Linked DNA regions of Homo sapiens: regions 1, 2, 3, 4, 6 and 7 are each linked to region 5. Evidence: promoter capture Hi-C in 16 types of primary human blood cells and fetal thymus (Javierre and others, 2016). All regions are on one chromosome and are shown on one strand. The core of a region is centred on a gene start or on the middle of the fragment in contact, and the rest is flanking DNA. Distances in the headings are between cores, read along the strand shown. Region 1 has its middle 32 kb from the start of LGSN. Region 2 overlaps EYS (eyes shut homolog). Region 3 overlaps EYS (eyes shut homolog). Region 4 overlaps EYS (eyes shut homolog). Region 5 holds the start of KHDRBS2 (KH RNA binding domain containing, signal transduction associated 2). Region 6 holds the start of PHF3 (PHD finger protein 3). Region 7 overlaps LOC124901228 (translation initiation factor IF-2-like).

Region 1 (3,795 bases), core at 1,056-3,555, 1.1 Mb after region 5:
CTACGGAGACTGGGAACAATCCACTTCTCAACGCATTCTGGTGGCATTTAGGGATAAGCTGGTTTATCCAGGCCAGCTTCACAGAAGATGAATATAGTTCCATTTCAGTTATTAGAGACCTACCCAAAGATTTAGAAGAATGTTTGATTATTTGAAAGCATTTTAAAACTATTCATTCAACAAGGAAAAGTTGAAAAAGAGTTCAGTACCTATCATGTAAATTATTAAGGTTGGTGCAGAAGTAATTAGCAAAAACCGCAAATACTTTTGCACCAACCTAATAATTAACTCATGAGGAATGGTAAAAGTGAGTAAGCTTTTTAGTTAAGAAAACTGGATTTATAGAGTTATTCTAGCTGTGTTCTATTCAATTATTACCTTGATTTCTTTCATTCTTTCTTTGGTTATAATATGAAAGCAATTACTATATTAATTATTTCACAGGGTTGTTAGTAGGACCAAATTTATTAAAATATACAAAGGACTTCACAAACTGGAAAATATTTTACAGATTTGTAATTATAATTATTACTGGATCTAGTCATAGTTATTTGTCTGCAAACCATAAATTATCTCAGTGCATTCAAATTAACCTGGTTGTGAAGATTTAAAATTTTTTACTTTATTTCCAGTTTTAATAAACAGCATACTGAAAATAGTGCCACAGGCACATCATAAAACTAACTACAAAGTAAACAGTTCAGGCCAGGGGTGGTGGCTCACGCCTATAATCCCAGCACTTTGGGAGGCCAAGGTGGGTGGATCACCTGAGGTCAGAAGTTCCAGACCAGCCTGGCCAACATGGTGAAACGCTCTCTCTACTAAAAATACAAAAATTAGCTGGACATGGCAGCGCACACCTGTAATCTCAGCTATTCAGGAGGCTGAGGCAAGAGAATCACTTGAACCTGTGGGGCAGAGGTTACGGTGAGCTGAGATGGTGCCACTTCACTCCAGCCTGGGCCACAGAGCCATCTAAAAAAAAAAAAACAAACAAACAAAAACGAGTTCAGACGACCAATTGGTAAGTAAAACAATTGGTTTTTTATCCTAATAAAAAAGAATTTGCCATTCAATCACTAACATCCAAAACTATTTACAGTGCTATATTCTGAATATTTGTGTCTCTTCCACCCAAATTCATATGTGGAAATGTTAACCCCCAAGGTTAACATAAGAGGTGGGTCCTTTGAGAGGCGATTAGGTTATCAGAATGGAACCCTCACAAATGGGATTAGTGTCTTTATAAAAGAGACCCCAGAAAGATCCCTTCCCATTTCTACCATGTGAGGTTACTGTGAGAAAACCCTGTCTGTGAGGAAGCAGACCCTCACCAGACACCAAAGCTACCAGTGTCTTGTTCTGGGACTTCTCAAACTTCAGAACTGTGAGAAATACATTTCTGATATTTATCTGCCACCCAGTTTATGGTGCTTTCTAATAGCAGCCTGAAAAGATTAAGACAAAAGGAAGGAAAAAAAGCAGATATTTGCTTTATAAATATCTCTGTGTGTGTGTGTGTATGTGTGTCTGTGTGTGTCTGTGTGTGTGAGAGAGAGAGAGAGAGGAAGAGAGAGAGAGAGAGAGACAGAGAAAGAGAGACAGAAACAGAGACAGAGTCTCACTCTGCCACCTAGGCTGGAGTGTAGTGGTGCGATTTCAGCTCACTGCAACCTCTGCCTCCCAGGTTCAAGTGATTCTTGTGCCTCAGCTTCAAGCAGCTGGGATTACAGGTGCCCGCCACCATGCCAGGCTAATTTTTTGTATTTTTAGTAGAGACGGGGTCTTCCTATGTTGGCCACTCTGGTCTCGAATTCCTAGCCTCAAGTGAACCACCCACCTCGGCCTCCCAAAGGGCTAAGATTACAGATATGAGCCTCCACACTCAGCCTAAATATCTTAAATATGAATGTCAAAATAAAACTAACAGCAATCTAATGATCTTGACCACTTTGATTTACATGGAGACTAATAATTTTTTAAATGATGTTTCAATGACATATACTGTATAGTCTTTTTAAACCTGAGACTGATTTACTGTTTCAATATATCAGAGAACATTTAAAGAAAATTGTGTCATTGCCTCAGGATTTTCCAATGTATAAAGAAAGAATTTCTTGTAATGACCTCGTAGATATGGTACTTAAGAGTAAGTAACAAATAGACAAATAATTTTAAAACAAGAAATGGTTGAGACAGAAATGACCTTCCTGGAAAATAAATGCAATTAGAAAAAAGACTATTGTTACATGAAATGAATTATATGAAGGATGTTTCTAGGCAAACAGTAGGTGGCAACATCTACACAGACTTGTTTTAGAAATGCTTGTATAACATCAAAACAAAACTTACAAGCTAATGATTCATGAAATAGGGAATTTTCCAAAACTCACATGTTAGTAGAGATATTTATGCGCAAATCCATTGTTTTGTATTCTTTCTATTTTGGAATGTCATGCTTATGCCTTATCACAAGGACTCCACTAAGATCAATAATCTTAAAAATGTTTTGTTTGGCCAGGTGTAGTGACTAACGCCTAGAATCCCAGCACTTTGGGAGGCTGAGGCAGGATTGCTTGAACCAAGAATTTCGGGACCAGCTCTGGCAATATAGAGAGTCTCCATCTCTACAAAAAATACGAAAATTCACCAGGTGTGGTGGTACATGCCTGTGGTCCCAGCTACTTAAGAGGCTGAGGCGGGAAGATTGCTTGAACCTGGGACATCAAGGCTTCACTGAGCCATGATCACACCACCGCACTCCAGTCTGTCTCTCTCTCTCTCTCTTCCTCTCTCTCTCTCTCACACACACACAGACACACACACACACACACACACAGACACACAGTTTTATTTGTGGGTTATGTTAGAGACTGTTCATCTGTCTCTCAAACAAAGGGATAGAATTTTGTTCCCCTCACATTTCTTGGCCAGATTAGGTGGTTGAATTAGATAAGAGTAAGGATTAAGGGAACCATGCAAACAGCTGGATTTTTTTTTAATGCCACAATATGACCTCAATTACTGGAGTTCACAGAAGTTGCAGAAGACACATCCGGTGGTCAAGAAAAGGGGAAGCTGCCTTAAGTTTCCTTTTCTCTTGTGAGCGCAACAACCTCCATCTGTCTTTCTCTGTAACGCTGAAGACAGACACGTGACCCTGGTTCTCACAGAAGAACTTTCAAATCTAAAAAGCCATTTTAGGAAATAATTGGAAAAGTCTCTGTAGCCTTTGAGCTCCAGGATATTTGTTTTCCAGAATGATGAGATTGGTTATTGAATGTTTTAATGGTTGGAAACCAGAGAGTAGCTTTAGAGGCAAGCAGAGGCGCTGCTTTTTAACAGCAGAGGTCAGTAACACCAAAGGGGAAGGAAATTGAGCAGTCTGGCCAGAAATTGCAGATTTCTGTTGCAGACCCAACAGGCAAGAGGCAATAGGCAACATCCTGAGACACACAGGAAAACCTGATCCTTAGTACCTAACAGGGTCTCCTGTGCAGAAAATGTTCCCATCCCTGGCAACAGTGCCTTCCTGGATATGCTCACAGATGTTTAAGACTCTCCCTACCAGAGAAATAGCTTCTATCACAGAGTATTTTGTAGGGAACCATAACAGAACGTAAGGTGAAGTTTTCTACTATACTCTTATAATTATTGAAATTTTTCCTACTTCATTAATACCTGGACTTAGATTTCTCTTTTAGAAAGAAGCAGTTTGTAGCAAAAAAAAAAAAAAAAAAAGAAAAAATAATGTTTTTCACAGAAATTGAAAAAACAATCTCAAAATTTGCATGA
Region 2 (3,610 bases), core at 957-3,456, 1.6 Mb after region 5:
CCTTGGATTTTTAGATTAGGGATAGTCAACTTGTATTCACATTGCTGAAAAAACCAAACCAAAAAAAATTCTGATTGTCAATCAGAATTTTATGCCCAGCAAAAACTATTTTTCAAAATGAAAGTGAAATAAAGACATTATAGATAAATAAAGACTGAGAATTTCTTGTTAGTAGAAATATTAAAGGAATTCTTTCAGGCTGGCAACTTAAGTCCTCAGGAAGAAACAAGTGTACTGGAAATGGTAAATGTGCAGCAAACAAAGGGATCTATATTTTTTCTCATTTCATCTTTAAACTTCTTTAAGAGAAAATAAAATTGTATAAAGCAGTAATTATAACATTGTATTTTTTGGGTTACAACATATAAATGTATATTATGTATGATAATAATAATGAAAAGTTTGGGAGGAAAAAAGCTATAAAAGAGAAAAGTTTATAATTTTTATTGGAATTACATTAGTATTCTGAAATAGATTGTGGTAAATTAAGATGCACATTGTAATCCCTAAAAAACACTAAGAAAATAATACAAAATAATATAAAAAATCCAAAAGGGAATTCAAATAGTATGCTAAAAATATTGACTGTAGAATAAGGCATAAAAATGGCAATAGAGCAAGAGTTTACTGAAAGAGGGGCATGGGCGGTAACAGTATATGAATAAAGATGTAGGTTGCTTATGGAGGTTTGTTGGAAGTTCTCTTCTGATTATGTATACCAGGGTAATTGGCTAAGCATGAAGTAGGGGAGAAGGTGCTAGGTGTTAGAGAAGAAAGGAGAAGTACTAAATGTCACCTAGGAGAAGGAAAGAGTGAATAGCTTTGGGAAATTTAAGATTTTGGAGGTGCACTAAGGATCCATCAGAAGTTGGTAATTATGAATTTAATGCGCAACCAGTTGTCACAGTCATATATTTTTTGCCAGACTAGGTCAGCTTTACAGGTGTAGGTGCAGTGGAGGAGAAAGAAACACAGATTTGAGGTTATATGGAAGAATGAACATATTGATCAAATATGGAATCTAAGCTGGGAGTGGAATCTGAGCTCATGAGGAAGAAAAAATATCCTTCACGCTAATACATGTGAGGGGTAGGAAGGTCATCAAGCTGGAGATTCAGGGAGTTGAGAAACAATGTGAGCAAAAGCATAGAGTAGAAATAAACACAATATGTAAAGGAAAGGAATGAGTTAGACCTGACTGATGTGATAGGTATGGAAAGGGAAATTTGTAAGAATAAAATTGGTTAGGGAATATAGACTGAAATGGCACTTAGGTACTTAACTTCATTGTTTCTCTAGTTTATCTATCTAATAATCTTTGGTGGCAATGAGGCCTAACCTGAACCTATGTCAAATGGAATACTCTTCCCTTGCTACCCCTGCCTTGTGAAAGCACTTCTCCTTCCCTTTACCCTAGTCCCCCTACCCCGCTACACTTATAACTTTCTCATAACTTACCAATTTATGGTTTCTTTTCTACCCCTAGGATGTAAGCTCCATGAAAGCAGGGATGTTTTGTCTGTTTTATTCAGTCTATAGAACAGGACCCTGGATGTAGTCTTCCCCAATAGATATTGATGGAACGCAGACAGGAGGTATCCTCTTGTGCAGAAATAGCTATCAGGTGAGGCAGATTAGAAAATGGACATGGTCAATGACTCCAATTTAGTCTCACTGTGTGAGAAGGACACACAAAAGACTGTAGGTAGAATCTAAGATGTTCTGAAAAGGTGAAATTATACAAACATCTTTATTTATAACCCTCGATTTTGTCCTTTTCTACATATAGCCCTCCTCCTGCCAAAAGCTTACTTTAAGGCAAAGATAACTAGCGTTGCTCCAGTCTTATCCACTGTTTATTTTTCTATAGCTTTTCTCATGTAGTGTCTTAAATATATGAAGAGTTCCATTTGTAATCATGGCAGCCAGAAGTGGGCCTGCGAGGCTCAGCTCTCTTTTCTGCTTGGCTGGGGCCCTGTGTCTCAACTGTCCTTGCTTCATGCTCTTGGAGTAGTAAAGGATGTGCAGCTTGTGTTTCCTCTGAATGACTCCTTGACCCGAGTTGTTTCCAGTAACTCAGTCTGATACATTTATTTCTCATATTCATCTTAATACATTCTTACTTTGACTTACCCAACCTTTTTTTTTCTATCTTCACACTATAGTGACCCTTGTTATGACTTAGCAACTGATGATATAGCAATGTATCCATGCCCGATAGCTCCCAAGATTAGCAGTTTAAGCATAGGTTAGGGTTCAATATACCTGGAAGCATGCACACTCAACCTGGGAAAGCAGTGTCAGGCCTTCGGCTCCTCATCCTGGATAATAGGGGAAGTCTTTCAAAATTGATTCAATGCTGTAGAAAATGGTGACCTTCCAAATCACCTCTGGGAAGATGAGCAAGTATTAACTGGGAACTTAGGCCAGATAATGGGACTCTCCTCTCTGCAGTTCTTGGGGAAGGAACTGAGAGGTGTCTGTCATGAAGCCATGGAAAGACGAGCCTCAGGGCCCTTCACTTGCATAAGTTTTGCCTGGAGAAGCAACAGGCATTTTGTATTTGCTATTCTGAATTATTTTTCTTAGAAGCCTCTCCAAATTGCAAAGCTTCAGGGACTGACAAGATCTAGATCTGGAAGAAATTTTTGTATGAGTCAAACCAGACAAATTAGAAAGGCCTCTTTTGCATCTGTGGTAAAATACACATACCATAAAATTCACTGTTTAAACCATTCTAAAGTGTATAGTTCAGTGGCATTTAGTACATTCACATTGTTGTGCAACTGTCACCACTATCTAGTTCTAGAATATTTTTATCACCCCAAAGGAAACACCATGCCCATTAAGCAGTCACTCGTCATTTCCTGCTGGCTCCTGTCCTCTGCGATCACTAATCTGCTTTCTGTTTCTATGGGTTTACCTAGTATGGATGTTTCATATAAATGGAATTCAACATGTGGCCTTTTGTGTCTGTGTCTGGCTTTTCTCACTTAGCATGTTTTCAAGGCTTCAAGGCTTATCCATGTCGTAGCATGTATCAGTACTTTGTTCCCTTTTATGTGGAAAGGCCTTTAAATAAAAGATCATTTTAGAGAGGATGTAGCCAGTTAAATAAGGGGATTTCTTTTTTTTTCTTTTTTTTTTTTTTTTTTGAGACGGAGTCTCGCTCTGTCACCCAGGCTGGAGTGCGGTGGCACAATCTCGGCTCGCTGCAAGCTCTGCCTCCCAGGTTCACGCCATTCTCCTGCCTCAGCCTCCTGAGTAGCTGGGATTACAGGCGCCCGCCACCACGCCCGGCTAATTTTTTGTATTTTTTAGTAGAGATGGGGTTTCACCATGTTAGCCAGGATGGTCTCCATCTCCTGACCTCGTGATCCACCCGCCTCTGCCTCCCAAAGTGCTGGGATTACAGGCGTAAGCCACCGCGCCTGGCCAAATAAGGGGATTTCAGGAGTAAAATTTAATAGAATGACTCAAATACTATCAGCGGCACATTTTATGGTACTGTATTGTGTTAAATTCTCTAACCCAGTGGACTAGAATTTGCCTGTCGATTTTGATCTTTACACTGATTCCAACCAAACGATCATGGCTAACCTGTAAGCTT
Region 3 (3,883 bases), core at 1,083-3,582, 1.5 Mb after region 5:
TATGATGGTTGGGATACTCATGACATTGGCCAGTTAAAGGCCACTGGTAGGTATTTTATGTAATTATTAAAATATTACATTATTAAAGTTGGCACTCCCCACAAATTGACTATCTACCACTTTACTTTCCTCCCAAGTCCTGGCCATGGATGAATAAAATTCTGTAGAACTCATTCCTCCTTCTATATTTAATAGAAATGTAAACACATATTAACTACTTTGCAGTGTCAAGCATTTAACTGATATTCAGGATATACCAATATACCAATGAATTTATCAGCAAATAAGTTTTAATAGAAGCTCAATTGTTTTCTAATATGCATAGATAATAAATAAAAAACTGGTTTAAAAGATCCATATGTCCTTAAAGGTTTCTAAGTGCTTGAACGTTTGGAGACACAGGCACACACATGCATACACAAATATACAGGTCATTGACAATAATTTTTATTTTTGTTTTTGGTATTGTATAAAAGATTAGGAAAAGCAAAAATCTAATAAGGATGATTTATCAAAAAGCAGTATGTACTCTAATCATGAGAGAAAAAAGAAAAAAATCTTAACCAGGGATACTATAGGGAAAACTATAATTTTAAGACAACTGTGGTTTAGCTGTTGAAGTACTAGAAGAAGGCAGTGGCATCTTGCAAAATACTAACTCATTTCTGGGGACCACAACACCACATGATGTTTCAAAAGCATATAAAAAGATTTCATATTAATATGGTATAAGAGATTATTCTAAGTAATACTAACAAAATAAAAATATCATACATGATTCACAAGGTATAACATATATTGAGTACTATTTTTAATTGGAAAGGATCTTGTTATATCTAATAGCCCCAAGATTTTGTGTACTAATAGTGAGCAGGTGCCTATCTCAAACTATAATGGAGTATTATAGAACTACAAAAGATGACTGGAATAATTAAGAACAACAATCAGAAAACATAATGAAATAAAGTATTTTATTTGCTATAGCATGAAATACTTGGAATAAAACTGTACCAATTAGGTTTCTTGGTTACTGGCAATATAAACTAACCCTGACCATCTTAAGCAGGAAAGGAGACAGATTACCTCATGGTCAGTGGGAGGGCTGGAGAACTAGCAGGGAAAGCAGGAAAAACAAAGGAACATAGGTAGCTCAAATACTGCCAAGTTCACATTGTGTGAACAGCTATTTCAGGATGCAGCCACTGGTATTTCTATGACTGGGGACAGCTGTGCAACTACCTCAGCTACAAATAATTTCTAAATATTACTCTCTCTCTTTGGACCACTTCTTCAGGGTGCAAATCTTGGGGAGATTATCCCATTGGCTTATCCTAAGGCATGTACATGTACGCAAATAAGAAGGAAGTTCACGTGCTACGTGGCCAAAATCCAAAACTGAAACAAACGTAATACCCAATAAATGTTTCCCACAGACCTTTGGTTGCTGAGTGCCAACGTGCATCCTTCTTATACTTGCATTTTCAAATAACTTCCTTTTAACATAATGCAACAATCCCACATATAATCAAAAAAAGTGTCACCCTTCTTTCCCAATTGGAGACTTCTTAAAGTCTTTTCTTTTATTGCATTTTGTTCCAAGTACAGAAGGAATCTCTGCATAATGGCCATTTGTTCTCATGTTTATGTTGTGATACTGTCCTGATATAGACTAAATTTCAGTTACTAAACTCAAATGCTTTACAGAAACCAGAGAGCATATGACAGCTGTAATGTGATATGGAAGTATCTGTGATTTTTCCTGGTGACAGAATCAAAGGTAATGCTACTATTGTGCTTTTTTGCTTATCAGCATCCACAAGAGATAGTCAAAAGGAAAGACTTGATACAGGGAGCTAATTATGAAGGGAGAGCAAACAGGGGATGGTGAGGCCACCTAGAGGATAGCAACAACTGAACAGCTGAAAGCAGCTGCTACCTCTATGGCTGAAAGAACAAAGGGAAGACACAGTGCTACAAAAGCCCAAGAGCTGCAACCTCCTGACAGGAGCTGGGTCCGGTAATGGGGGCTGCTCATCAGGACATGGGACCACGGGTAGCTTGGGGACCTGTTAAGTGGCAGCTGGAACCAATCGCGGATGCAGCTACTAGTGGAGGGGAGAGGGGAGAAATTCTGTAGCTTCTCTTCCCCCCAGTCTCCTGTCTCCTGACAGGACCTTGCCTTGGTAGGAGAAAATGTAGTTTGTACAGGGTGAGAAATGCATCTCAGAGCTAACCTGCAAATGACTGGCATTCACCAGGAAGCCCTGGGGCTAAACTCCAGATTCCTGGAACTGGTCATAAGGCCACTTCTCATATTAGAACTTTCTTCTTTGGATGCTCTCTCCTTTCACGTAGGGGAAGCAAATTTAAATTCTTTCTTCTGTGTCCTCCTTGCTTGCCGCCTGCCCTGCAGTTGGTTGGATTCTTTATCTGGTGTGGTGATGCAAGTCATCATTCCTGAGAGGCCAGGCCATGGTGGGCCTGCGGTCAGGAGCTTCACGAGGCCTCCATTAACTCTTACCATTGGATGTGTGAAGCACTATCCCAAGGCAGGCTTCTCACTGTGTGTGTGCATGTGTGCCTGTTAATGTATGCATGTCATGGACCTCTATAGCAGTCTAGGGAAGCTAGTGGGAACCCTCCTCAGAATAATGTTTTTAAATTCATACAGTAAAATACCTAAGATTATAAAACAAATCCACCTTTTTGAAATACAATTAATAAATTATAACAAATGTTTTGTCATGAAGGAAACAGTATAGTCCTTTCATAATGTATTTAAATAGCAAAATCTAGCAGCAGGTATAATAACTACAGCAGTTTCACATTGAGGGGGCACAAGCATATTTTAATACAGTATATAACAACTGTCATTTGATAAAAAGGGATCTGATTTCTCTTGGTGACAAAGTTGCAGGTGCTGATAATACAACTGTGATTTTATGCTGATTTTCATAGTTAAGAATACATTAAGTTTCTGTTGGAGTTCACAGAAAGATGTAGTTTTTTTTTCCTCATCCATATTCACAGCTTCTTTGACTGAGAGGGTTACCTGGGTTTTACCAGAACACTTTTTCACCTGCTGGCTAATTCTCTCACCTTCAGTGTTTTTTCAATTCCACCCTTCTCCTTCTCCCTGAGGCCTATCTTGTCCTATCCTGTACACTCTATTTACTTCTAACCTTCCTCTGTGTGGTAAGGTTTTTTAAGAAATGCTGTCTTAAACCCAGTCTGGGGCCCTGGTTGGAGGCTAGTCATTTCCCTGGACTCTCACATTCCAGGCCACCACACTCCTGTCCTAATTGCCCTGGGACAGGCACCAGACAACTAGGGACACACCTTGGAGCCCTCAGAATTATTCCAATTAGCCAATCTACAGAGAGCCCTCAAAACCTAACTAACCCCACCTGACTTGCCACACAAAAGCCCTTTCCAAGGGAAACCTCCGTGTGGCCCTGTGGCAGTCTTCTCCCATTTGAAGCTGTAAGTAACAAAAAGTTCTGCCATTCATCTATCCAAGTGAGTTGTCTCCTTCCATCCAAAAATATCTTGAATTCTTATAAAAACACCTTGATCCCCTCCCAGGGATTTCTTCTCTTTTTCTTCTCAGCATTTTTGTTTTTGTTTTTCCATAGCACTTATAATCTACCTTCTCACAAATCACTAGACTGTCTCCCCACCTCACTGAAATGTAAGGTCCGTGAAGGCAGGATTTTGTCATTTTTGTTTTCTGCTGCATCCTAAGCACTTGGAACAGTGCCTGCCCATAGGAGGCTCTCTTTATTGAATGAATAAATGAATGCATGACTCTCCTCTCTGTGCCTATTGTGATCAGTCACTCGGGGCAACACCTTCAAGCCCCTTCATACCTGTTTGTGTGGTT
Region 4 (3,490 bases), core at 40-2,539, 1.5 Mb after region 5:
ATCCTCATTCAGATGATCCAACAGTCTTTTAATTCCAATAGATTAAATTTCCTAAAGTATTTCATTTAGAAGGAAAGACTTAATAGTAAAGGAATAATAGTTGTAATTTGTTATTTCTTCAAACTATTATTCTAATATGGTAAAATAGTATCATTTATTAAATTTAATTTATTCCTCTAAATATGATAATGTACTTTGCAGAGTTCAGCAAAGTCCCAAGTAGTACAAGGACATGAGCGTGTAATCTTGGACATTTTGCTAATTTAAGTTTTGGCTGCTCACTTCCAGTTATCTCACTCTTTTGAAAAAACTGGTAAAGATAACACCTCATAGGATTGTCTCTAGGAATAACTTCAAGTGTTTTAAAAGATATTTCCAAATGGATTAAGAAATTCTAAGTGACAAGTAAATTTTCCTTCTCCCTTCTTCCTTTCCTGTCAAGGCTGAAAGAGAAAATGTAAGAGGAGCCACAACGATGGTGCTGTGGTTCTCCCACCAAATGAATATTGCTTACAGAATGGCGCTTGATTACTGGTGGGAGTTCCCATCTGGAGGAATGTTTTGTGAAGATATTTTTGCAGCCATATTTGATTATAGTTCTAGGGCTTGTAATGCCTTTTGATTTCTGAAAGAAGGAAACGATCTTTTGATTAAATATTCTTAATATAACAAAATAATGATTCTGCGACAGAGACACCCAGATGAACCTAATTGAGTTTCAGTTGTCTTTTCAACTGGCTATGAGAGGGTATATTCAGTTTTTAGGAAGAAAGTGAAATTAGATATGAATGAAAAGTTAAATAAGTGTGAAAGGTCTTAGGAAAATTATAGAAGTTTATGCAATTAGAATCAAAACTAAAGTAAAACAAAAAATATATATCTAGGTCGATACGTGAGAAACAAGACCCAAACGAGTGAAAGTCCTTACTGCCGGAACAAGATGTATCGAGTGATATAGGATTCTAGACATTTGAGCCATTTTTATCCCATATTCAGTTACAGTCTCTACTTTAGGGGATGCTAAACTAAAATTAAGATGACTAAAGATTTTGGATTAACTCTTAAAGAGCATATAGTCTCTTTTTATCTTAGACCTGTATAGCTCCTGTTCATAGTGGCAAACTTTTGGCTTCCTGTTCTGTTGATGGGACTATTCAGTTATGGATATTCTAGGGTTTTGAGAGCATTAGAACCATGTACAGCCATGACCATGATGTTTCATCATTAGCCATTGAGCACAATGGATACAATATAGTGTCTACCTCATGGGATTAAAACCATTAAAATGTAGGCAATGTAGACTGGCTCTTTTTGTGGCCAAATTAATATGGTGTCCTGACTTCCATCTGTGCTAGTGAACAGACAGTGTGGAAGGGTTGATAGGAACAACAAATCCAGTGCTATGCTCAGAGAATATGAAAATGTGATAAAATGCATTTCTTGGGGCTACATATGGCCCACATTTTTATATCTCTTGAGCAAAAGGAGGTGAGACTAGAAAAAGTGGCAAATCTGTATCTCTCTTGCTGTCAGAGATGAGACTGTGAAAATAAGGGATGTAAGCACCAGTTTGTGGGTAAACTTAAATTTCCACAAGATGAAACCACATGGGCTTACTGCAAGTATAGTGTTCCCCTGTGAAATCAAGGTTACCCACTTTGAACCATCCTTAAGTGTATATTCCCTCTTCAGAAATACATTTGAAAAAAAGATGGGGGAAGATTTGCAAGTATCTGTATATCTTTGTCATTTCTAACCCTGTTTGAATACTAGTCACATGTGACAATTTTTATGTGTTTCTCAGTCAGTCGGGAAAGTGAATAGCTTAACTTCTTTTTAAACTATTTTAAAAGACTCAAATAATTTAAAACAGACAATTTTGACATTATAGTACAGGATATTTGATTCCATGAAAACCAAGATTTGATAATTTGAGGTTCTCAGGAAGAAAATTCTCATGATTTCTAGTCTTCCTGGTGTGATTACAGAATAAAATAATGAGCATTTTTCTGTTATAAAAAATTGAATATAGGCATACACTGTCAGTTTTGTTTATAAAATACCTCAGTGCTGTGCAATTGAACTATGTGTTACATTAGGGAATTGGCCATAGCCTGCTCTCATTCATCAGGCATCTTCCTTCTGCCTGATCCCTACCAGGGCTCTCTGAAGAACAGGCTGAGCTGATTGCTTCTGTGACACTCCCTGCTTCAATTTTCTTTTTCTGTTCTGTAGGGTGACATTCATTTCATTTTTTTTCCACAGGAAAATAATCAAGCTATATTTATGCACTCTTATTTCTGTTACAGTTTATAACTAAGGGCTTGAAGCAAACAAGAAATTATTTGGCAGAAAATATGAGGCAACCTTTCATAATTACCACAGCATAGAAGATCTACATGCTGGTGACTGACAGCTATGTGCATAAAGTGCTTAGGTGCATAGATCAAATTTCCAGGAAGTCAAATATATTTCTTCTAAAATATATATATATATGTATATGTGTATATATATATATGTATATGTGTGTATATATATATATATATATATATATATATATATAATTTTTTTTTTTGAGACAGTTTCACTCTTGTCACCCAGCTGGAGTGCAATGGCACGATCTCAGCTTACCACAACCTCCGCCTCCCGGGTTCAAGTGATTCTCCTGCCTCAGCCTCCTGAGTAGCTGGGATTACAGGTGCCTGCCACCACACCCAGCTAATTTTTGTATTATTAGTAGAGACAGGGTCTTGCCATGTTGGCCAGGGTGGTCTTGAACTCCTGACCTCGGGTGATCCACCCGCCTTGGCCTCCCAAAGTGCTGGGATTACAGACATGAGCCACCGTGCCCGGCTCCTAAATTTTTTTTATTACTGTATTATATAATTTTAATACAAACTACAGTTGAGATTTTAACTTATATTTCAATGATTCAAACAGTGCTACATGTTTCCCCTCCCCCTTCATTTAGATCAGATCCTAACTTCTTCACTACAATCCGAATCAATCAATGCCTACACAGCATTATTAGCTAACTAGGATAGCCTCTGTCCACAGAGAGACTTTCAGTTAGTGAAATAATAAATAAACATGTAATTATTGATTTTTCACCAACTATCCAGCACAGGAATGATGCAGCTGGGAATCCAAAAGAAATGGAAAGAATTTATGATTAATCTTGTTGAGGGACAAGATTAAGATTATGAAATTGCTGCTATTCTAATGCTTTGATTTATGAAAATGGTACCTTCATATAATTCAAAGCAGTGATTGTAAATGACAAAACAGTATTTAATTAGATACCAAATTATAGGATAAAACCACAAGTGCTATGTAGGCTTTGTGTAGGTAGAATATAAGAGATCCAAGTTTGTCAGAGAACATTACATGAATGAGTAGGTACTGGGAGAGGTAAAGAGGACTAGGGCAGGAATTCCAGGCAAGAGGAAGCTTGACGGTGGACTGAACGAGAGCGATGGATCTCAGGTAG
Region 5 (3,758 bases), core at 282-2,781:
TGTTTAGTATTTAAACATAGAAAAATACCTTACACTTCATTGTTAATATAAATAACAATTCATAAATTAAAAAATATAGCTAATGCCTATTTAAATCATATATTGAGGAGCAGAATTTATTCTTCCTTGGTACAACTAAGTCTCAAAAAAATCTTTTAATACTGAGGAGCTTGGGTAGAGGAAGTTATCCGTTTTAGTTTTTTGCTGTATGTAAGTCCATAACAAACTTAGCTACAAAACTGCATTGTAACCAATTTGATGATGAAGCAATTCATTATTAATGAAGCATTCATCTAAAAAAAATCTGCAGATGTTTTAAAAAGGCATGGGTAAGTAACTACAGATACCATAGGTGTCTTTAGTATTTAGATGGCATTATTATAACATAAATGGAGTAATTCGGTTAATAAAGTTCATGTGTCTTTTTTCAAAAAAAAACCTTTCAAAGCAATGCAAAAAACAAGACATATGTGTTCCTCTAGGAATGAAATCCCCTTTAACATTACAGGTACACAAAAGAAAATGCACACTTGGTAAAACAGTTGATCAATTATAGAGTGTTCCCAGGGACCAATATCTCACAGAGTACCCAATCATCACACTTCAAATAAATGTATAAGCACTTTAGCCTTTACTTACCACATTAACATACATATAAGAACATGCATAGTTTAATGCATAGGTTAATTCTAACACTTTCCATAGGATAGACTTTGATTAAAGGGTATCAAAAATCACTTCCTAAATGCAGCAAAAAATAAAAATAAAAATACCGATCTGTAGCTACGAAGCTCTTAGAACACTACATTGATCACCATTTACTTCCAAACTGCTTTCCCTTCCCTCTGCGAAGTGAAAATGTCCCTGTAGACCGCGTTACATACACTTTATGGTTTCTCTATCAATGATCCTAACAGGTCACATCGCCACTGCCATTAGATCTCCGTAGCTTTGGTCTTCTCCAAATTAAGACGTGGAGAAGGAGCACTGCTGTCCGCCCCAAGAACGGGGTCTGTCCGCCCGAGCTCTAAGGCGAGCATCTTCAGGGGGACAGTTTCTGCGAAGGCGGGGAGAGGAGTCCCTCCCCAACTTCACTCCCCTAATCAAGCCGCGGGTGAGATAGGCAGCCGGCGGTTTGTGCCCATCTGTGGGGGCAAGTCCTACCTTCTGCCAAAAGGCGCGACGCATGCACAAAAGATGGATCCAGGCTATCTTTCTCTGCCATCAGCTCAGGCAAATATTTCTCCTCTTCCATAGCGCGGACTTCGGATTGTCCCCGGGCGAAGCGCGAGGTTCCGCTCGCTCGGACGCAGGCAGGGTCTTGGGGCAGCGCCTGGCTCCCGCGCTGCTCCTCCTCCGCGCGGCGAGGGATCTCTGTGCGTCCTCACTGGCCCATGCACCCAGCACCTGCGACTCCCGCCGTCGGGCTGCGTGGCCCCGCGCCCACACCTGCCCGTCCCTTCCGTCGTCCCTCGCTCGCGCAGAGCCCCGGCTCACACCAGCGGCCTTAACTGGAGAGGCGGGAACAGGACGCGGCCCACCTCCGCCAACCACTCATTGGTGGTGGTGCCAGGAGAGGCGGGGCGCTGGCAGAAGGCCGCGGGCTCTCATTGGGCGGTAGCGCAAGTCGGGTGGCCTGACTGGCAGGAGGCAGCTGCAGAGGGGAAGGGAGCTCGGAAGATGCAAACGCTTTCTTCTTGCGCCCAAGCCTTCCCTGGCTATTAGGCATGCCCAGTTTTGTGGAGTTCTCTGTGTCTTCAGCTAAGGCGCAGAGGAGAGAGAGCGCGGGAAAAGCGCAGGTTAAAGAGAGAGGTCTGAGTACAAGTGGACAGGGGAGATGGAGATGAGAAGTGAGCCACCCGAGAGGGTGGAAAAGCGCCAGGGAAAGTCTCAGGAAGGTAGATGGGACTTCACCTGCGTCCCTAAGGCACAGGTGTCTCCTTTCCCTCACACAGCTCAGGCGCACTCCAGTTGTGCAGGAATCAGCAGCGCACTGGGTCTGGAAATACAATGAAGACTGCATGTGATCGGCAGCTGGTATTTCCGATGACCTACATCTCAGGGACGCAGTAGGATGTTCATTGATAAACAAATAAAGCGGCTCGAAGAAATATTGTGCAGAGACATGATTGAGGTGTACAATCATTAGGATATTGAATTAGTTCTGGTAACCTATCCGTGCCTCCTTTCCCCAGACCCTATCTGTGGAAGGGAGGTTGGGAGGGGCTGAATTTAAAAACCAAAAACAATATGATTCATTAGTCACAGTTTGTGAAAGAATTGGGAAGACATGTAGAAGAAAGAAGAGACTAGAAAATAGGTAACCACGTTTGCTCTAATTTTCCCCTTTCTCCTAGTTTTAGATGTGCCAGTCTCTTTCACCAGGTACTGTTGCTGAGCTACTTTGTATTATCCCACCTCTATTTAAAGGAAAGTTAAACCCTCATGATATCACCAAGCGTGGAGGCAAAGCCCATCCTTCTTTTACCAATGCGGCTATAAAATGTAACTTGCATGCCTCAATCGCTAGGAAACAATCTTTCCCCAAGTCTTGGGTTCTCGTTTCATAAGTAGTCATTTCCTGATTCTTCTCTCCCCCATTATTTTTGGTGTGGAAGAATGAGGGCCAACTTTGCTACAAATAAAATGTGCTGAAATTTTTCCAACTTATCTTACTGTATTTAAATATTTTCCTTTTAATTTTTAGATAAATTCGGGAGATTAACTTTTATTTGTATAATGTTTAAATAACGTAACGTGCCTCACATTGATTATTTCAATACGTCCTCACAGAAGCACTCTGAAAAATGCCAGCCAAGTATTACTTTCTCTGTTTGTATAAATATGGAAACTGAGGCAAAACAGAGAAATCGTCTCATGTCTAGTTAATGCTGAAGTTGAGATTAAAATTCAATTCTATATTAGCACCATTTATATCCAGAATATACTGCTTCAACCTACCTTTCTGTGTGTTATATATTTAATTTATTTGTGCATGTGTGCATTCAACAAATGTTTATTGGATACTGAAAAGAGTCTAGGGACAGTACTTAAAATTGGAGAAACATTGGTGAATAAGATACATACACATTCATTCCTTGTCATCACAAAGATGTTTTCTAATGGGAGAAGATAAATAAAACCAAGTATACAAGAGGAATGGTAATTGTTGACTGCAATAAAGGTCAAGAATGAACCAAGGAGTTAAGAAAGAGAATACAAGGGAAGACATTAGTTTCTTTATTTTTGACTAGGGTAAACATACAATCTCGATAAGCAGCTGATATTTACGGTGAAAACTCATGGAAAAGAATGAACCAAGTGAGTACAATGTGCAAAGAAAGACATTCCAAGCAGGGGAACTTGCCCCTGAAAAAGCCCTGTGGTGGAAAGAACTGTGCTGTCTTTTGGAATTGACTGAGGTCAATGTGACTACTGTAATATGGGAAAGAATGGAATCAATAAGGGAGGGGGGATTGATGTGTACAAACACTGAAGATTTGATGAATGAAAATTATTTGGATTTTATTCTAAGTGTAATAGGGGACCATAAAGTATTGGTATCTTTCTGGATGTGCTTCTTAATCTCTTTCTGATTCTTATGTTACTTTCAAAGGAGCTATTATTTAGAATTGAGTATATATACAGAAAGTTCTTGCTATTTTATCTGTGTGCAGAATGTTTAGTAGTTGAAGGGTCATGCATCCTGCACCTGGTCTGCAACAGGGATATAAAGGGAAAATATGCTTCAAACTTAA
Region 6 (3,685 bases), core at 125-2,624, 1.3 Mb after region 5:
AAGAAAAAGTGTTGTAACTTAAGCCTCCAAGTTCAATGATGATCTCGGTAAAATGAGTTTGAGTTATTTTGTTTTTTGTCTCTGTCACTCTGATGCCCGGGCTGGAATGCAGTGGTGCCATCTCGGGTCACTGCAACCTCCACCTCCCAGGTTCAAGCCATTCTCCTGCCTCAGCCTCCAGAGTAGCTAGGATTACATGGGACTGCCACCATGCCTGGCTAATTTTTGTATTTTTAGTAGAGACGGCGTTTCACTATGTTGGCCAGGCTGGTCTCAAACTCCTGACCTCAGGTGATCCACCCGCCTTGGCCTCTCAAAGTGCTGGGATTACAGGCGTGAGCCACCGCACCCGGCTGAGTTTGAGATCTTTTGACCCCACTGTTTTGATTCTGTGTTTAAGCATACAAACATTTAAATCTATTCTAAATTAACACGAAAGTACATGTCTACAAAGTGTTTGCCAGAAAAAACTTCATTAAATAAATTTAATATTTTTATTGACTTTCTGCTCATAGGGGTTAATTCTTCCAATTTTTTTTTTCCATATTTAGTTTACTGATTACTGTAGGGACCAATGTTTCAGTGATGACAAGCATTTTTCATATCAAAATTGACTTTTGTGTCTACATTGTTTACTGTCTTCCATGGTCTTAATCTCTGCCAGGCTCAGTTTTCTTGGGTCAATGTTTTGCAAGATCCAAATTTTATCACTTTTCCTTCTTTGATAATTTTTTAGTTAAATACAAATACACTGTCAGTTTTAGTCATTATCAATTACTCTGTCTTGTTTTCCTACCAAATTTAATTTTCCCAAGTTAATTTGGAGTTTTCAATGTTACTGATACAATCTGATCTTCCAATAAGTCCTGTGTGCAGTTATAGCTGTTGCCAGTATTATTATGCTGGTTCTTTCTTCTACTAACCTTTCTATGAATTGGGTATAAGATAAACAGTTCGTGTTTACATCTGGAAGCAAAAAGCAAAGACCATTAGTGGACAAATGTGAATCTGGGCACTTGGCTGGTTCAAAATAACAGAATCAAAACATCATGCCTATGGCAAGCTTGTTGACTTTTTAAGGATCAGAAATCTTTGCTTTGTAAATGTGACAGTCTTATGATTCTTACATTTTCTTTTAATCTCCATTTTGTTTTATCTTAAATTTATTAAAACTTCTCTGAGAAGGTAAGTTTTCCTCAGCCCTTCTAAGGGATTTTCCAGCTAGTGGTCTCCGTCATCAAGTTCTACTCTGTTGAATTCCTTCGGGGTTGGATTTTGTTTATAACAATAATTTTACTTTTTCTGAACGCCCTTTTAAAACGTCACACTGAGATCCACCAGAAGAGTAAGAATAACATTAGGCTTGTTTTTATAATTCATCCCAGACATCCCAAGTGAGAATTAAAAAAAAAAATTACTCATTTCTATTTTCCTTTCTCAAAAACACATTACAAAAAGATTGTAAAACAAAGTCTTGAGGGATTGATTAGTCAAGACAGGGGGTGAAACTCTTAAGAATCCAGTGGAATCAGGACAACCCAAACTTCCTTTGTAGAAGAGCATTTGCTATTAAGAGTGCTTAAAATATCAGAAGACTAGAGAGAGGAAAGAACAGATCTTCACCACATGCCTGTGACTTATTCTTCCACCCTGCACTAATCTTACAATGTGGGCTGCGGTTGGTCTAAAGCTTAAATCAACAAGTACTGTAAAGGTTTTAGAACAGTGCAGACCACACAGTAAGGTGCTCAGCAGGTACTGGCTGAATACTGTAATAGTCCCTGTAGATAAAAGCCACAAACCCTGTCCCTAAGTAGCTCCTTTTGGTTGGAGTGACTGACAAGCAACAATTACTTCACAGCGCTTATTAAGGGCTGAGATAGGGGTTAGCTCAAGTGTCTGTGGAAGCAGACCAGTGGGTCTCAAACTTTTTTTGTCTCTGGACCTCTACACAATATTTGTTACCACAAATAATGTATTTATGAAAAGCATATTTTCCAAATTAATAAAAGGGTGATATCTAAAATTTCTGCAGATTTCCTCAATGTCTGGCTTAATAGAAGATGGCTGGATTCTCTTATCTGTTTCTGCATTGAATCAGCTGCTATATGCTGTTTTGGTTGAAGGGTGGGAAGAAAATTTGGCCTTAGACACATGCTCCTGGCAAAGGAATGGAGGCTCTACTGAAAGGTCTTGGCGACCCCTCAGGGAAACCTGGGACCACATTCTGAAGACTGCTTACTGGATACCAAGAATGTTTCTTGGAGGTAGCAATTTGAGTCCTGAGGTAGATCAGCCATGTAGGGTGAGGGTAACGGAGGTAGTTAATGGTAAGGCTGCTGTGCCGAGCCAGCACAGATATTTGGGCAGAGGGCTCATCTACTCCATCCTATTCTACCATTCTTGAACTCACAGTCAATTAATAAAAAGTACCTGGGGTTGGGGAGCTGCGCATCAATATTATATTAACTGTGAAGCCTTAGTGCTTACTACGGTCGAGAAAAAGCGCTCCTCTGATTCGCCCCTCCCGGCGGCGCGGAGGTGTGAGCTAGAAGCCCGCAGGCGGTGCCGCGTCCTCCGAAGACAGGGAGGGGCGCGGCAACGCCGGGAAGCGCTGCAGCCCGGGGCCCCACGGAGGCGCGGCGCTCGAGGCCCTAAAGCGCGCAGGCGCGGCAGCGACGCAGGCCGCGGCCCCCGGAACGGTAAACAGTGGGGTCACGTGACACGGCCCCTCTCCAGCTCCCGCGCCGCCGCCGCACGCCGATGGCTGCGGGGTCTCGCGCCGTCGCACCGTCCCCACGCGGCAAGCGACCTTCGGGCTCAGGGCGGCGGCGGCTGCAACGAGGATTAGGAGGGCGGCGCGGAAGCCAAGAATAGTGTCGTCAGCAGCAGCCATTTGGTCCCAGGAGGAAAAGAGGCTGTGGCAGCGACGCCGACGTCCTGCGCGTACCCCCTCTCCGCGGCACCCACCGGGCCCCCTCCTCCTCCTCTTCGGCGGCGGCAGCGTCCACCATCTTCCTCTTGCTGCCAGTGGTAGCGCTCGTCTGGCGGAGCTGGGTGAGTTGCGGCTGTGGCCGCGGCCAGGGAGACGGGCAATCCTCCCCTCCCCCATCCCCTTCCACACGCACAGCGCCTCCGCGGGCCTCTCCGCCCCTCCCGCGGCGGACTCTCCGCGCTTTTCTCCCGCGCAGCCGAGAGATCGCCTCTCGGGCCTCTTGCGCAACGTCCTCGGCCTACCTGGGCCGCGCCGCTGGCGCCTGTGGACCATTTGGACCGCGGGCTGGGGAGGGAGTCGCAGCGACGCGGTCGCCAGGCGGAGGGTCGGGACCACGGCCTCTCTCCCGACCACTGGTACCCAGCCGTCTGCTGCGAGGGCGCCCCGCCGCCGCTGAGGCGCGGGCGCGCAGGCCCGAGGCACGGCGGGCGCTGCCTGGAAGGCCCGTCTCGCAGGCCCCCGGATCCGGCCGTTGGGGCCTCTTCCTTCTCAGGGAGCCCCAGCATGGAGCTTTGGGCCTTGGTTTCGGGAAACTGGGACTGGCCCTGGCTGCTAGGCTGCTCCCTGCTGCTGCTTTTTGGAGATGAGAGTTGCTCTTCCATTTATCCTCCAGTTACCGCGCGCTTTTGTGCCCGGGACTCAAACTGTGGACTCCTTTTGCTTAGTTTGAAATGAGAAGCCTAGACTCTT
Region 7 (3,708 bases), core at 1,078-3,577, 1.3 Mb after region 5:
AGCAACGTTTGTTGAACATCCCTAGTTAAAAAGCAACTGTGTTAGGATAAGAAAAAAGCATGACTGTTGTAGCTTTTGTTAAATAAATGTTATTATGCTTGCAGGAAATTGTTCAACAACATTTCTCCTTATGTAAGGCCTGCCCCAGTAATGCTGCTTAGGTCACTGTCTGTCTGGATTATCTGCAGCCTAAATGCCAACTCTGTAAATTAAACCTGTCAAGTGACAGCTTTGCCATAGCATGCATATCCAACCTTTAAAATTTATTTATACTCCATTCCCTTTCTCTAGCCAGATTAAATTCTCCTTTCCTAAGCTATTTTTGCCTCAGTTCAGACTGTGGCATAATTCAACATGTTCTAAACAATCACATGGAGACTGTGGCCTTCCTGATTTTCAATTCCCAAATGATTTTTATTCAGGCTATAGAACAGCAACAGAAATTTCACCAAATTTGCTAAAATAAGAAGAGTCTTCTCAAACTAGATTCCTCCAGGTACCAGTAGGCAAAACAGTCATGAGTTATGGATAGATTCATAATAAGTCCTTTATTCAGTGCCCCAAGGAAATGGTGCCTTTCAGCATGCAAATGAAAAGTATTCTCTTACTAATCAATCTGTCCATCATTTCTTTTTTGTTTTTCCTTGAGAGAGAGGGTCTTTGGTCTGTTGCCCCAGATGGAGTGCAGTGGCATGATCACAGCTCACTGCAGCCCTAACAACTCCTGGGCTCAAGCAATCCTCCCACCTCAACCTCCGAGGGAGCTACAACTACAGGAATGCACCATCATGCCCAGATAATTTTTTTTTTTTTGTAGAGACAGGGTCTGACTGTGTTGCCCAGGCGGTATCTGTCACATCTTAATACACACACTAAGCTCCTACAGAAGTAAATACTATATTAAGCGGCAGAGTTACTAATGTGAATACACATTCTCATTTGATTTGGAGACTACCTAGACAACTTTCAGGTTTATATTTAAATTGATTACAATTAGACATGAAAAAGGGACAGAGAATGGGCATAATAGAGATCGATTCAAGAGAATTGTTTCTTAAAATAGACTTTAAAAAAAAAAGTTGTTCAAAACTGCCTTAATCAATTTTACAGAGAAAATATTACCTCAAATGGTTTGATATGATGACTTGATAAGATGTTACTTCTGATCCAGCAGGATTCATTTATTAATATAAATATTTACATCTGTAGTACCCTCCTAGGTGGGTGACTGTTTCTATATGTCTGACTCAACAAAACACAGTAGCCCACAGGCAGCTATTGGCCTTTGGACTTTGTCCTTAGGCCAGATTCCTTAAAAGGCTTGTTGTGACAAGCTTATTTGCTCATTGGAAATTTCTGTGTCTAAATTTCCCACAGAAATTAGGATGTAGCTCTGCTACAGCATTTTGATTATTCATCAAAACTTACTCAAAAGACTTTTGATAAATCTTTAAATCAATGTCTTAAGGAAGAAAATTAAGTCACTTTTTAATATAGAGCATGTTTTAGTTTTGAACAATATTTAAGCACTGCAAATTATATGTTCATAGAGATTTAAGCATAGGCATACCTTGGAGATATTGCAAGTTCAGCTCCAGACCACCACAATAAAACAGGTATTACAATAAAGGAAGCCACATGCATTTTTTGGTTTCCCATTTACACTACATTGTTGTCTGTTAAATGTGCATAGCACTATGTCTAAAAAATGTACATACCTGTTTTGTCCCACTGAACCCATAGCTGGAGTTGCCTTAAAAGCAGCAGCAGGAGAATTCGTACAACAGAGTACCCCAAACCATTTGAAGACAGGGCTGGTTTGAGATTTCAAAGAAAGCAGCTCTAAATGCCAGAGTGATCAGTCCAAAACATTTATTAAAGGAACTTGCAGGGTGTTGCAATGTATTATTGTGATGGACAGCAAGAGAAAAGGGATGTTTTACCCACATTAGTCTGTAGCCAGGGGGTGAGGGGATGGAGTTTACATGAAAATTTAAGGAATTCGGCTCAGGGTCGGGGTCAGTTTCTTTCCAGTAAACCAAGACATTATTATCAGTGCCTGGGAATGTTCAAGCTGGTTTGGGTTCAAGCCAGCTGAGGAAAACCTATGGCTACAGCTGGCTGGGTCACTGTGATTTTGGTCAAGACACAGAAAGGAAGTGGGGAAAACGGGTACCCTAGAATACCTTAATTTAAAAATACTTTTGCTAAAAAATGCTAACAGTCATCTGAGCCTTCAGCAAGTCATAATCTTTGCTGTTGGAGAATCCTGCCTCAGTGATGATGGCAGCTGACTGATCAGGGAGGTAGTTGCTGAAGGTTAAGGTGGCTGTGGCAATTTCTTGAAATAAGACAATGGAGTTTGCTGCATTGATGACTCCACAAAAAATTTCTCTGTAGCAGGCAGTGCTGTTTGATAGTATTTTACACACAAGAGAACTCCTTTCAAAGTTGCAATCAGTCCTCTTAAAACTCACCCACTGCTTTATCAGCTAAGTTTATGTGATATTCTAAATCCTTTATCATTTCAACAATGCTTACGGCATCTTCACCAGCAGTAGATTCTATCTCAAGAAACCACTCTCTTTTCTCCTTCATAAGAAGCAACTCCTCATTCATTCAAGTTTGATCATAAAATTGCAGCGATTTAGTCAACTCTTCAGACTCTGTTTCTAACTCCAATTGTCTTGCTATTTTCACCATATTTGTAGTGATTTCCTCCACTGAAGTCTTGAACGCCCTCAAGGTCATCCATGAGAGTTGGAGTTAACTTCTTTCAAACTCCTGTTCATGCTGATACTTTTACCTCCTCTCATGAATGTTCTTAATGGCATCTAGAATCCTTTCCAGAATGTTTTTGGTTTACTTTGCTTAGATCCATCAGAGGAATCACCATCTACAGCAATTTATAACCTTATGAAATGTACTTGTTAAATATTAAAACCTGAAAGTCAAAATTATTCCTTGATCCATGGGTTGCAGAATGGATGCTGTGTTAGAAGGCATGAAAACAATATTACTCTCCTTGTACATCTCCATCAGAGCATTTCAGTGACCATGTGCATTGTCAAGGAGCAATAGTATTTTTAAATAAATCACGTTTTATCAGTAGGTCTCAACAGTGGACTTAAAATATTTAGTGAGCCATGCTAAACAGATGTGCTGTCAACCAGGTTTTGTTCTTCCACTTATAGAGCACAGCAGAGTAGATTTAGCATAATTTTTAAGGGTCCTAGGATTTTCAGAATGGTAAATGAACATCTGCTTCAACTTAAAGTCACCAGCCACATCAGCCCCTAACAAGAGAACTGCCTGTCCTTCGAAGCTTTGAAGCCAAGCATTGACTTCTATAGCTATGAAAGTCTTGGACAGCATCTTCTTCCAGTATAAGACTGTTTTGTCTACATTGAAAATCTGTTATTTAGTGTAGCCACCTTCATCAATGTTCTTGGCTAAATCTTCTCAATAACTTGCTGCAGCTTCTCCATCAGCACTTACTGCTTCACCTTTCATTTTTATGTTAGGGAGAGGGCTTCTACTCTTAAACCTCATGAATCCACCTCTGCTATCTTCAGACTTTTCTTCTACAACTTCCTCACCTCTCTCAGCCTTCATAAAAATGAAGAGAGTTAAGGCCTTGCTCTGAATTAGGCTTTGACTTAAGAGAATGCTGTGGCTGGTTTTCTATCCAGAACTCTAAAACTTTCT

The links. Contacts are between HindIII fragments. The CHiCAGO score rates a contact against its expected background, and 5 or more counts as called.
Region 1: a contact is called between a fragment that was not itself captured here and the fragment with the promoter of KHDRBS2 in region 5, in 1 of 17 cell types (monocytes). The highest score is 6.9, in monocytes.
Region 2: a contact is called between a fragment that was not itself captured here and the fragment with the promoter of KHDRBS2 in region 5, in 1 of 17 cell types (monocytes). The highest score is 5.2, in monocytes.
Region 3: a contact is called between a fragment that was not itself captured here and the fragment with the promoter of KHDRBS2 in region 5, in 1 of 17 cell types (monocytes). The highest score is 9.8, in monocytes.
Region 4: a fragment that was not itself captured here is called in contact with the fragment with the promoter of KHDRBS2 in region 5 in 1 of 17 cell types (monocytes); the score reaches 6.7 in monocytes.
Region 6: a contact is called between a fragment that was not itself captured here and the fragment with the promoter of KHDRBS2 in region 5, in 1 of 17 cell types (monocytes). The highest score is 6.1, in monocytes.
Region 7: a fragment that was not itself captured here is called in contact with the fragment with the promoter of KHDRBS2 in region 5 in 1 of 17 cell types (monocytes); the score reaches 7.5 in monocytes.

Annotation. Positions count from the first base shown.
Region 1 is chr6:63,349,867-63,353,661 of GRCh38, forward strand. It overlaps a transcript of LGSN not described here. Among named protein-coding and RNA genes, the nearest start is that of LGSN, 32 kb to the left of the region's middle. RefSeq lists enhancers at 2,737-2,846, 2,917-3,186, 3,287-3,376. The HindIII fragment of the contact is 3,983 bases long and covers 315-3,795 here.
Region 2 is chr6:63,902,193-63,905,802 of GRCh38, forward strand. All of the region lies in intron 35 of EYS (eyes shut homolog), which reads right to left. Among named protein-coding and RNA genes, the nearest start is that of SCAT8, 97 kb to the left of the region's middle. The HindIII fragment of the contact is 803 bases long and covers 1,806-2,608 here.
Region 3 is chr6:63,815,394-63,819,276 of GRCh38, forward strand. All of the region lies in intron 36 of EYS (eyes shut homolog), which reads right to left. The region is part of intron 1 of SCAT8 (S-phase cancer associated transcript 8); the gene reads left to right. Among named protein-coding and RNA genes, the nearest start is that of SCAT8, 10 kb to the left of the region's middle. The HindIII fragment of the contact is 5,816 bases long and covers 1-3,883 here.
Region 4 is chr6:63,796,459-63,799,948 of GRCh38, forward strand. All of the region lies in intron 37 of EYS (eyes shut homolog), which reads right to left. It also overlaps the pseudogene LOC100422587. Among named protein-coding and RNA genes, the nearest start is that of SCAT8, 8.6 kb to the right of the region's middle. The HindIII fragment of the contact is 4,318 bases long and covers 1-3,448 here.
Region 5 is chr6:62,284,694-62,288,451 of GRCh38, forward strand. KHDRBS2 (KH RNA binding domain containing, signal transduction associated 2) reads right to left here and starts at 1,532. Exons shown (of 9, transcript NM_152688.4): 1 at 1,165-1,532. The coding sequence starts at 1,255. RefSeq lists a silencer at 1,392-1,481. The HindIII fragment of the contact is 7,395 bases long and covers 1-3,758 here.
Region 6 is chr6:63,633,094-63,636,778 of GRCh38, forward strand. It overlaps PHF3 (PHD finger protein 3), which reads left to right and starts at 2,709. Exons shown (of 16, transcript NM_001370348.2): 1 at 2,709-3,057. RefSeq lists enhancers at 1,397-1,934, 2,466-3,286 and silencers at 2,504-2,863, 3,304-3,483. The HindIII fragment of the contact is 627 bases long and covers 1,062-1,688 here.
Region 7 is chr6:63,564,380-63,568,087 of GRCh38, forward strand. LOC124901228 (translation initiation factor IF-2-like) reads right to left here. Exons shown (of 2, transcript XM_047419610.1): 2 at 1,856-3,708. It also overlaps a transcript of LGSN not described here and a transcript of PTP4A1 not described here. Among named protein-coding and RNA genes, the nearest start is that of PTP4A1, 6.2 kb to the right of the region's middle. The HindIII fragment of the contact is 1,991 bases long and covers 1,333-3,323 here.